Regions from separate parts of the Homo sapiens genome. Here regions 1 and 3 are each linked to region 2. The links are contacts of gene promoters, found by promoter capture Hi-C in blood cells and fetal thymus (Javierre and others, 2016). All regions are on one chromosome and are shown on one strand. The core of a region is centred on a gene start or on the middle of the fragment in contact, and the rest is flanking DNA. Distances in the headings are between cores, read along the strand shown. Region 1 holds the start of GORASP2 (golgi reassembly stacking protein 2). Region 2 holds the start of ATF2 (activating transcription factor 2). Region 3 holds the start of METTL8 (methyltransferase 8, tRNA N3-cytidine).

Region 1 (3,291 bases), core at 40-2,539, 4.2 Mb after region 2:
CATAGACAGCTGGGCAATTTAAGAATGTGTCTCACCTAAAACATGGGACCCAGGGCAGGAAATGAAGGTAGCACCAGGAAGTGCACTCTCTTACTTTCAGTGAAAACGTTCTTGCCTGTGAGGAGCTAATATTGAGTGACACTCTATTACACCCCTAAATGGCGCTACACGCTGCGGCCACTCTGTTGACTGTTCATGTTAACACTCACACAGGTGTCACAGCAAACAACCATCAATGCTACTTCTAAAGTCGCCCGGTTCCATGAGGAAAAGACCACATGCTTTGTACCACCCAGGCCCAGGCCGTTCATAGGTAGGGGCTTAGCTGACGCCTTTTGAGATACTATGTTTCTCTGCGTCCTGGAAGTTAAGCTAGGGTTGTTTTCCTTTATATACTCCGATTTTTAAAAAAAATTTCTCTGCACTACCTCTTTACCACTGTGGATCTAAACCTTATAATCTAAACCACACCCTCAGCAATCGGAACAGAACGGAAGTTCCCACTCCAGGAAATCTTGAGAAGGTTTGGGAGGGTCAGGAGTGGCACGGGAAAGGAAAAGTCTGGTCAAAATCAAGTCTGTTTAAGTCCGTCGAACCTACTTCCAGGCCATTTGGTTTTCCGTCTCCTGCCCTGCTGGTCTTTCAGGCCACTCGGCCGGCGCCGAGGTGATTTAACACCTGCCGCCGCAGGCCCCGCCTCCGGACTGCGGGTCCGGATCCCTCTCCTAGGAAAGCGCAAAGGCTGCCTTCACAGTCACCACTTTGGAGACGTTGCCTCCGCGCCCTTCCTAACTTTGGAAGCTAAAAATGAGGGGGGGTGGAGGAGAGAGAAGGCCGTGCGGAAAAAGAGCAAGGTTGTCCCCCCTTCCCAGGGCCGCCCCCTGGCCGAGTCGCCGGCAGCCGCCTCCAGCTCCAGCCCGTCCTCCTACAGCCGCGGACCCCGTGCCCAGGGCGCTCCGCGGAGGTGGGATGCGAGCGGCCTCCGGAACCAGCCTCGACCAAGGCAGCGCCCGCGACCGCCGCTCCTTCGCGGGATCGGGCCTGGCTGCCCCGTGAAGGAGCCCATGGGGGCCTCCGCCTCCCCGCGGCCGGCCCCGCCTCCAGCCCGCAGCTCCCCGGCCGCCGTCGGAGCCCTTACCCGCAGAACGTGGTAGCCCTCGGTGCCCCCGCCCGGGATCTCGACGCTTTGCGAGGAGCCCATGGCGGCGGGCGATCGGTGTGGCCGAGCCGGGCTCCGCGCTGCTCCCGCCCCCAGCGCACCGCCTGCTCTAATCCTCCGCGTAGCACTTGGGACGTGGCACTCGCTGCCGCCGGAGAGCCGGGCCGCACAGCCCGCCGGGAGATCGTCTCTGCTGCAGCCCGGGCCGCTGCGACGCCGCAGACAGCGCCACCTGCCGCGAGCCACTGGAAGGGGCCCGAGCGCTCGCGGGCCGGGAGGGCGGAGAGGGAGGGCCGGAGGAGGACTGGGAGGCACCGCGTCGTGCTCGCGAGAGAACAGAAATGCGCTTCCCCCAGCTTTGGCGCCTTGCTACGGGGCCCTGGATTGGACTAGATTTATGCAGACGCGTTCCCGCTCGCCTGAAAGAACACATACTTGGTTGCAGGTCCCCCTGGTGGCCAGAGGCGGGGAAAGGGCTGCTGATGAACAGGAGCGAACTCAACACACACCAAGCTCTCTGTTCTCCGGGTGTGTAGGTATTTTCCCAAACTGTACAGCTGAGGGGAATAGTGGCCTCCTGTGGGCTGCCTAGCATCTGCTCAGCTAAATTTTATAAAAGGAAACGCTCCCTTTATAAAACAGTAGTCTCACAGAGTCACCTACCAACTTCTTTTTTGGTTTGGGTTTGTTTTTTTTTCTTCCTCCCTAATTGTGAGAATAAGATTAGAGGATTGGTCATAATCAGAGCGATGCCAGCGTGGGAAGCACGGTTGGATTTCCCTGGCATTCCACCACCTGCTGCTGCTCGGTTCCCCGTCCTACCTCCTTCAGGTAGCCAGGTCGTATTCATGCTTATTCCGTTGTCGTATTCCGTTGCTGCTTTTGCCCCTTACGTGTACTCCCTCTGAAACCCCTAGTTGCTTTGTGGTCAGTTGGACTGATGTTGCGTCAACCAGGTATTATGTGGATTCCTATGTGATGCAATGTAAAGTACGTGCTATCGCCCATGAAGTATTCTAGCCCAAGGTGGTTAACTTGCCTCTATGGCATCTTGAGTTTGATGTTTACAGGAAGTAAGGGGAATTGAGGAGCAAGTAAAATGACACCACAGGGAACCAGGCAAATACAGGAAGTGGGCCTTCCTTCAGGACAGCTGGCCAGTTCTCTTTGTCGAGTCAGAGTCCTATGAAAGGGCCTATGCCAGATTAAAAGGAACCCGAAGAATATAACCAAGAGACACATTGCAAGGGCTTGAGTTGGGGGCCAACTTGGAGAAATAAGCGTAAAGGACATTTTTGGTTCATTTGGAGAAATTTGAATATGTACTGAGTATTAGAAGAGTAGTTATTCACATGGAAACGTGGAAATTATTGTCTTTTTTAAAAGCTGGTTACAAGACGGGATGTGTCTGTAGACAAAATGAAAAACATGTCCTCAAAATACAGATTAATATGTATGTATGCATATGAAGATGTGGGAGGAGAATATGAACCAAGGGTTACAGTGGTGATCTCTGGGTGGTGACAGAGATATTTTATTTTTTGTTTTGGCTGGTTCCATATTCTATGATGCTCATGAAGTGCTTTTGTAATAAGAAAATATTATTTAAAATTTAAAAATAATTTTCTTTGCTATCGGTAAGTGAATAGCAGATTTTTAGGAGGCCTAATAAATCCATAAATCCATAAATGAAATCTCCAGTTATTAGGCTCCTCAAGGACAGGGTCTGCAGTGGAGTTGGCTCTATGTTCTTGATATTTACCAGAATGCCTAGCAGCTAATTCAACAAATTAATACATTTAATGCAAGAGAATAAATGGAAGAACTAGATCTAATTATAATGTTCTCATTCTGCTTGGCAATTATAACCCTCTTTATGATGGAAGCTGCTGCCATGTTCAGTGGTCAAAATTTTTGGACCAGTTGTCTCCCATATGTCTGATGGCAGCCGCGGCCTATAGAACCCAGGCTGTGGATCGTTGGTGGTCCATGGGCAAGTCCAGCCCTTCCTTAGAGCTGTAGTGTATGTTTCAGCCTCATGAGTGGCTGCTTGTTATTCTCCACACAAGCCATTTACTTTCTTACCTTCTTGATTTTATTCATGCTATTCTCTACTTCTGGAATGCCCTTCC
Region 2 (3,643 bases), core at 177-2,676:
ACTGGAGAAGTAGCAATGAGAAATTTAAAACCAAAGCTACTGCCCAATTGAATCAACACTGGAAAAAATTTCAAATGGAAAAACAATTTTTTTAAAAAAATCTATTCTAATTGACCCAAACTTCTTTTGAAATGTCGTAACATTTGCAGTTCTTTTTCTCACATTAGTTGTTTTGGGAGATGGAGAGAGAAGCATCTATTTAATCAATGCGTTCTAGACCTAACAATTGTGATGTCAATCAAACATTTTGTCCACCATTTCCATCATGAGTAATCTGAACTGTGAGGTTTTGCTGACATAATTAGTGTTACACTACAATGGCACTACTACATTACTGTTACTATATGGGGACGGTACTTTCATTTTAAGTAGGAAAGTGTTAATAATTTGGCTTAATGTTTCTTAACTAAAATTAGTTTTAAAAGAGGACTGAGTTGGCTTATACACATGTATGCGGTCCAGAGACCTACCTGTTAAAATGTCAATGCCATTACAATTTCACTTTTATGCCAGATATCATTCTTGAACTTCAGGCTCATTAACTCTCATACTATCCCCCAAAACCTTTCAACAATTTTGAGAGTGTATTTTATGTTAATATATAAACTAGTTCATAATTTTGTTCCAGACTAGAAATCAGTATTTAATAAATGGAAAAAATAAGACACTGAAAATCTTTTATTGAATAATGTAAATTCTCACAGAGGCCTCTGATCATACTTTTCAACTTGTGCCTATTTATTGAATAACCAACATCCTTACAGTTAATATTAAAATCTTTAAGTTGTGTGGGGTTTTTTGGAGGGGAGGGATGGGCAATTACCAGCAAACTCCGCCTCCCCCAAACCTCACCTAACCCGAAGCTCCCCGCCTCAGGCTCCCGGGGAGCCAAGGGGTGGGCTGAGGAACGCAGCCTACTTTTACCCACCTCCCTACCTAGTGCTGGGAAGTGACGGAAACGGAGACACCCGGCTCCTGGGGCTGGGCTCGGAGGACCCATCCTGCTTTCCCTCTAGCAGCCTTTCCGGAGCTCACCACCTTTCCTCCCCTCACACCGCCAAAGCCCTGCCTAGCCCTTCACCGCCGCCTGCACCCGCGCCCTCCTCCAGCCGACAGCCAATCACAGTCTTCCACAGCTCCGGGTTTACAGAAGTAACGCTCCTTGGGCCCTCTGGTCCCGCCCCCTCCAGAACTGCTTCCCGCCCTTCGGGCTCCTTGTCCAATCATGAGCGCCCGAGTGCTCTTTGATGCCCGTCCCCTCTACCCGCCCTGCCGAAGACCCGCCTTCTTCTCCTTAAGCCTGACGGAATCACCTGACTCGGAGGCGCTCCCTCAGAAGGAAGGCAAGAAGGGGCGTGTGGGTGAAGGGGAGGGGCGCCAGAAGGAAGGTGGGGATGCCGGGAGCGGGGCGAGCGGGCGGGGGTTGTCAGTCCGATCTCGCGAGAGAGGACGGAAGCCTGTGGGAGCCCGTGGCCTTTAAAGTGCCGTTCAGCCTTTTCCTCCAGGGGTGCTTTGTAAACACGGCTGTGCTCAGGGCTCGCGGGTGACCGAAAGGATCATGAACTAGTGACCTGGAAAGGTGAGTAACGATGGGCAGAGGTCAGCAGGGCTGGAGACTGTAGGGATACGGAGAAAGAAGGCGCTAACATGGCGACGTCGCTCAGCACAGTCCCCACCCCCCGTTTCCCATCACCTCGGGTGCTCCTGACGTGCTCCTTAGCCCTTGGGGCGATTGTGGCTGTGCTGCCACCTCGGCGGCCCGCGCGGTGTGGGCTTTGGGAACCTGACTGGCTGGGCCGGACCGTTAGGTAACCAGCGTTCGTTGTTCCGGCCCCTCCCTCTCGCGCGCTTTCCTAAGGCAGAGGAAAAAGGAATAACGGCTCCCTCTTAGACCCCTCCCTCCGAATTATCTTCACCCTACTTGGGTCAGTTCAGAGGTCCTCGGGGCGCGCGTCGAGTCAGCCGTGTGCGCAGGGAGACCTCTCCCACCCACAGTCCTTGGGTTGGGCGGGGAGAGGGCCCACTCTGGTCTCCCCACCCAGTATTCAAGCGATTGAGGACCGTGTATTGGTGATGGTGGCGGGGAGGAGGATCGGGAGGCGCGGCTGAAAATAGAATCAGGGTCCCTGGCTGCGGTGCAGCTTGAAGGAAAGAATGGTGTGGAGAACCTAGGAGCTGGAAGTCTCGGCCTTTTCCGTCCTTTCCGCCACCCTCACAATCCCGCTACCCCCAGCTTTTTCCCGGTGGGGCGGGGCTTAGGTGTGGGTGCAGACTGATTCTGGTATTTTCCCTTATTTTTTTTTTTTTAAATCTCTGGGTGGACAGCAGAGCGTATGTAAAGAAATAATTTGCTTTTCATCAATGCCCTAGGGACCAGGGCCGAAAGGGAGTGTGTGTACGTGTTTTCTATGTTCGCTCGTTTAACCGAACCTAGGAGGAAAAAGAGAGGAGGAGCTGGGAACTATTTTTGTGCCCCTAGGTAGTATAAAATTGGCTTTCTTTAATGGAGAGTCTTAAAACTGGTGAGGCCAAGAGCAAAACTACTGTGAATATCATGGAGTAAAAGAGATTACTCCTGATGGACCTTAGGCATCAGAAATTTTAGTGAAAGAAATGTTTCTCTTAAAATTCAACACCTATTTTAAATAGTGATGTAAAGCATTTCTTTACATGTACCTTCAGGTTTTCTAATGCTTTCCTGGCTATTATTTAACTGGTACTAAGGGATTGACTAATCCCTAAATTATAATGTGAAAGTTTAAATTTCTTAGAGGTTTTAAATTATGGAGACGGTCACAATGCATGCATTTAAGATATACATTTAAAATCAGAACAAAAACTGACTTTCTTTGAGCACACTTTTTGTCCTATTTGAAGAAACATGACCACTGGCGTTATCATTGTGAGTAACAGCCGTTCTGATCTTTAAATAGCCATATAGCTTTGGTCTCTTGAATCAAAATTATGAAGGTAAAGCTTTATTTATAAAAGCTTGTTAAAAAGTCAAACCTACAGGTTTAAGTGTCTTAAAGTACAAACACAGAAGCAGTTTTATCATGTATTAATTTTTTTTTCCTTACTTGAGGAATCCACCGTAAAAACTTTGTTTCAAAAATGTTAGGAACATCCTTGTAAAATACGTTTTAAATATACAGATTCCCCTCTGCAGATTAAGAAAGTTCATGGATCTTTAAGGCCATCAGTAGTTGCGTAATAGTTAAGAATCCTCGTCTTTGTAAAATAATTTCTAGGAATCTTCCAAATTTACCGTGATGTGTAAAAGAGTTTCTGAGAATCTTCCAAATTTACCATGATGTGTATGTTGCCTTCCTAAGACGTTTAATCTTGCTTTGAGAGAATGCTACTGCCATTAAGTTTTAAGAACTGATTTAAAATGTAATATCGTGGAAATTTAGAACTTAGTTGTTATGTATTTTAATTGTCAGGAAGGAGCTTTCAGGGACTTTTTTTTGTATGTGTAGTGTACATAATACCTTCTATAGCTCCGGGTGCATTTCCTGAAAATCCTTTTTAAAATATCTTATCCGAATGTTTATTTCGTATTTGGGGCACTGTATTTTTATTAGTTAAATATGTAACCCAGGAATTCCTGCACTTTTTTCTTTGGCGTTTTTTGTTTTTA
Region 3 (3,614 bases), core at 1-2,500, 3.7 Mb after region 2:
AGTTAAGATCAACAGTGAGGTGAATTACAGCAAAATTATCAATAAAAAGTTACCTGCTGACACAGCGCCGATAATTGTCAAAATATATTCTTCCTCTCTCATAGGCTATAGGTGACCTGGAATGAGTTGTCCAGACATTCTTAAATTTAGTACTTTCCTAAAAGACATAAAGAATTTCCGTTCAGGAAAGAACTCTTAGGCTTTAAGTTAGATTTTAAATTTTCAAAGCAACATAATGTCACCTATATTATTTTAAAACTTTTTGCATCCTTCCTCCACTCTGCCCTCATGTTTTGGCTTAATGAGGTGACCAACTTTTAGAATAATTGTTTCCAGGTAAGACATAAGAAGCGTAAAACTAAAAGCAGCTGGTGGCCCTATTACCACCTATCCCAGATTCCGGGCTTGTATCCTCCTCCCCATCACATGTGACCCTATAAAGGGAGGCCCCAGCGCGTTAAAACCGCATCCCCGCAGGAGGCTCGGCCGCCGCGCGCCCGCGGCCCTCCGTCCCGCCCCGGCCGGCTGGCGGTCACCTGGCACACCAGCGCCCGCAGGATGCCCAGGTTGGTCCTCTGCACCACGCCTGCGTCGCGCGAGAAGCAGCCCAGCGCCCGGCGACTCAGCCGGCTGCACACGTTGGGCTTCCGGGTCGGGCCCATGGAGGCGCGGGCCGGGCCCTGGGTAGGCTGGGCCGCCGAGTGGCGCGCCCCACACTCCCGTGCTGGGCAGCCGCCGCTGCCTTCGAATTTCGAGGCCCAGACTTTCCCGGCGGGGCCCAGGGAAAGCTGACACGGGGAGGCGGGCAGGGAGCACCCGACGGCGGGGCGAGGGAAAGCAGAGCCGCTTGCACCGCCAGAGCGCGGAGAGAAGGGAAGAAGCACTCCCTTTTCGATCTGCCCCAGGCTCTCTGGCCGCTGACAGTGCGACGCTCCGGTACCGCGCGGCCGGCCGGAGCCGCTCTCTCACCGGGAAATGTAGTTCCTAGTGCCTCGTGAGGCAGCCCGGCTTCTCCCAGGAACTACAATTCCCGTCAGGCGGCGGGGAGCGAGGGCTTGCCCGGCCCTGCCTCTGCCTGCCGCGGCCCCGCCTCCTCCGGCCCGCGGAGGCTGCGCTGTCTTGCGGGCGCGCTTCTCTGTGCTGCGAGTGGCTAGCTGGGCAGAGCCCTGGGGGCGCGGTGCTGCCGCCTCCAGGTCTCCGCCCCGTGTGTGCGCCCTGCACTTAGGGATCCCTCCCTCACTGCCCCGGTACTCACAAGCTTCTCGGCCCCGACCTTCGCCCTGGGAGGTTCTGGCCAGGTGCCGGGAGGGGCGCTGTGTCGAGGGCGATCCCCCCAAAGCAGCGTCCCGTGCTAAAGGTACGCCCCGCGGCTTTCCCTTCAGCCGCATGTTGGCTGAGGGGGACGGTAAACTGTGCTTTTGTATTAGGAAGATGCTGGCTTCCCATTCACTCTTAGTTTCACCCTCCAAACTGGGATTGAGTTACTCTTTCCCGGAGGCTTGTCCTTGGGTGGCCTGCGGGGACACTGACTGGTTTTGCGATAATTGCTTCATTTCATTTCCTCTCGCCTCCATTCTTTTTTCTTTATAGGGAATAAAATATGAAATGCTTACATTCTTATTGGACGGCCTAAGATATTCCTCGTCGATGTCTCTAAGTAAAAGATATACTTTGTTAACTAGCCCTGCCTGTATGTTCAAAGTTCCCAGCACACTAAACTTTCAGCAAGCTTGCACCACATGTGTCCCACCGCCATGCTCTAAGTCCCTTAAGGGTGGGGCCGCTGTATCTCCCACGTGGACTTGGGCATGCTACCTCTTGTTCATAGGTGCTCAAAGAAAGCCAGCGATCGCACCTGACTGGCAGAGCAAAAAGTACAGTACAGCAGGTCCTTGAATCGCATTTTTTCGTTCAGTGTCATTTTGTATAACTTGATGAGAAAAAATAATAATTTCCTACCGGGGCTACTGTTTGTGTGGATCTTGCCCCTTCTCCCCACGTCTGCATGGGTTTTCACCAGGTACCCCAGGGTACTGCCTCCCACATCTCAGTGCAGGCTGGATGAATTGGCCTTGTCTGTGTTTCCTGTCTGAGTGTGAGTGTGAGTGCTCCCTGCGATGGAATGTCGTCGTGTCCAAGGGTTGGTTCCCACCTTGCACCCTGAGCTGAGGGGATAGGCTTCAGCCACCCTCGACCCTGAACTGGAATAATTAGGTAAATAACTATCTTACTTGTTTTTATTAATCTTCCTTAAATGTATGTATAGCTCCCATTTATTTCAATGTTTAATATTAGAAGTGTTTTGGTTTGTATTTAGGAGTTTGGTGATGTTTTTGTGACCAGAAATATGTTATAGGAACTTAACTTTTGTTTATATCAATTGGCCTATGGTAAAAATGGTTTTGTTATATGTCATTTTGCTTACAGTCAGTTTCCAAAAATCTGTTGATGACATTAAGTGAGTACTTACAGTACTGGGTGAGTGTGTTGGGTCACAGTTTAAGTGTTTAGTAAACATTGGCCATATCTCTTTTTAACCCTGCTGAATTTCCTTCAGGGCTCGAGCTTTTGCTGATTTTTCATGACTTATTTACAGCATACGGTAGAGTGCTTTGTATATTTTTAGAGAGTGCTACAATAGTTAATTTGGTAATTCATGAATGCAGCTGTCACTGAGAAAACTGGAACCCAGAAAAGATAACTGGGTTTTCTTTGGCTTAAATGAAATTCAAATCATTTCTGAATTGAATTCATCAACTCTCTCATTTCTCTTTCCTCTTTGCCCCCACTTGTTTGTCTTCTTTCTTGTGGCCTTTATTTCACCACCAAGTCGTCACCAAGGGAGAGTCATCCTGGATGCCTTGCTGTTCCTCACCCACAACCAAGTCCTTTAGACTCTTATCCATCTCATCTTCATTTCACCTAAGTAATTTAGGGCCTCACCATTTTTTATCACATTATTAAGTAGTCTCTTAATTTCTGCCTTACTTGTGACACAGGATTTTTTTTTTTTGACGTTGCTTTGCCACTGGAGACCTCCGCAGCTGGAGACCTACCCAGGCCTTGCTCGGGCTGGGCTTGCCACAGGAGGTGCCCTGCACAACTGGCCCACTGGGCCACTCCTGGCTTGCACGCAGGTGTGGATCCTGTGGCCACCTGACTGTGGGCTCAGCCCCTGGCAGGAGAGGGTGTCTGAGCTGGTGAGTGCAGAGTTGTGTGGTATCCAGCTGGTTGCTCCAAGTGCCGGCACAGGAGCTGGCTCCGTGCACCGCTTGCGGCTGGACCAGGCATGTCACAAGTGACTCCCACAGTGGGCTCTGGAGTCCAGACTAGGGGAAGGTGGTGGTAACCAAATGGGTCAGGCAACCCAGAAGCCCCAGAGGTGGGTGTTACAGCATGCTAACAGCTCTTTTAGATCTGCCCTCTGCAGCCTGACGAACAGGGGCATGTTAACAGCCCTATCAGTCCTGTTACCCCACTCCCGCCCATGGCCCTGGGGCTGGCCTGGCCCCCCGCCCTGCTTCTTGTTGCATAGGGTGGCTACCAGGCGCTGCTGGTGGGGCAGAGAGCTACCGTGTTACTCTCTTCTTCCTACCCATGTTTGGTGGCATCCT

What was found. The method cuts DNA at HindIII sites, captures the fragments that hold promoters and counts their contacts. A CHiCAGO score of 5 or more calls a contact.
Region 1: the fragment with the promoter of GORASP2 here is called in contact with the fragment with the promoter of ATF2 in region 2 in 1 of 17 cell types (activated CD4 T cells); the score reaches 5.1 in activated CD4 T cells.
Region 3: a contact is called between the fragment with the promoter of METTL8 here and the fragment with the promoter of ATF2 in region 2, in 3 of 17 cell types (monocytes, activated CD4 T cells and total CD4 T cells). The highest score is 12.5, in monocytes.

What each region holds. Positions count from the first base shown.
Region 1 is chr2:170,927,251-170,930,541 of GRCh38, reverse strand. It overlaps GORASP2 (golgi reassembly stacking protein 2), which reads right to left and starts at 1,289. Exons shown (of 10, transcript NM_015530.5): 1 at 1,139-1,289. The coding sequence starts at 1,201. RefSeq lists a silencer at 811-1,510. The HindIII fragment of the contact is 11,137 bases long and covers 1-3,291 here.
Region 2 is chr2:175,165,986-175,169,628 of GRCh38, reverse strand. It overlaps ATF2 (activating transcription factor 2), which reads left to right and starts at 1,426. Exons shown (of 14, transcript NM_001880.4): 1 at 1,426-1,579. It overlaps MIR933 (microRNA 933), which reads left to right and starts at 1,920; the gene lies at 1,920-1,996. RefSeq lists a silencer at 1,408-1,477. The HindIII fragment of the contact is 6,773 bases long and covers 1-2,978 here.
Region 3 is chr2:171,431,626-171,435,239 of GRCh38, reverse strand. METTL8 (methyltransferase 8, tRNA N3-cytidine) reads left to right here and starts at 1,250. Exons shown (of 10, transcript NM_001321154.2): 1 at 1,250-1,357. It overlaps DCAF17 (DDB1 and CUL4 associated factor 17), which reads right to left and starts at 1,014. Exons shown (of 14, transcript NM_025000.4): 1 at 537-1,014; 2 at 54-157. The coding sequence starts at 662. RefSeq lists enhancers at 188-747, 1,567-1,636, 1,309-1,869, 1,847-2,016 and a silencer at 347-1,256. The HindIII fragment of the contact is 4,328 bases long and covers 1-1,260 here.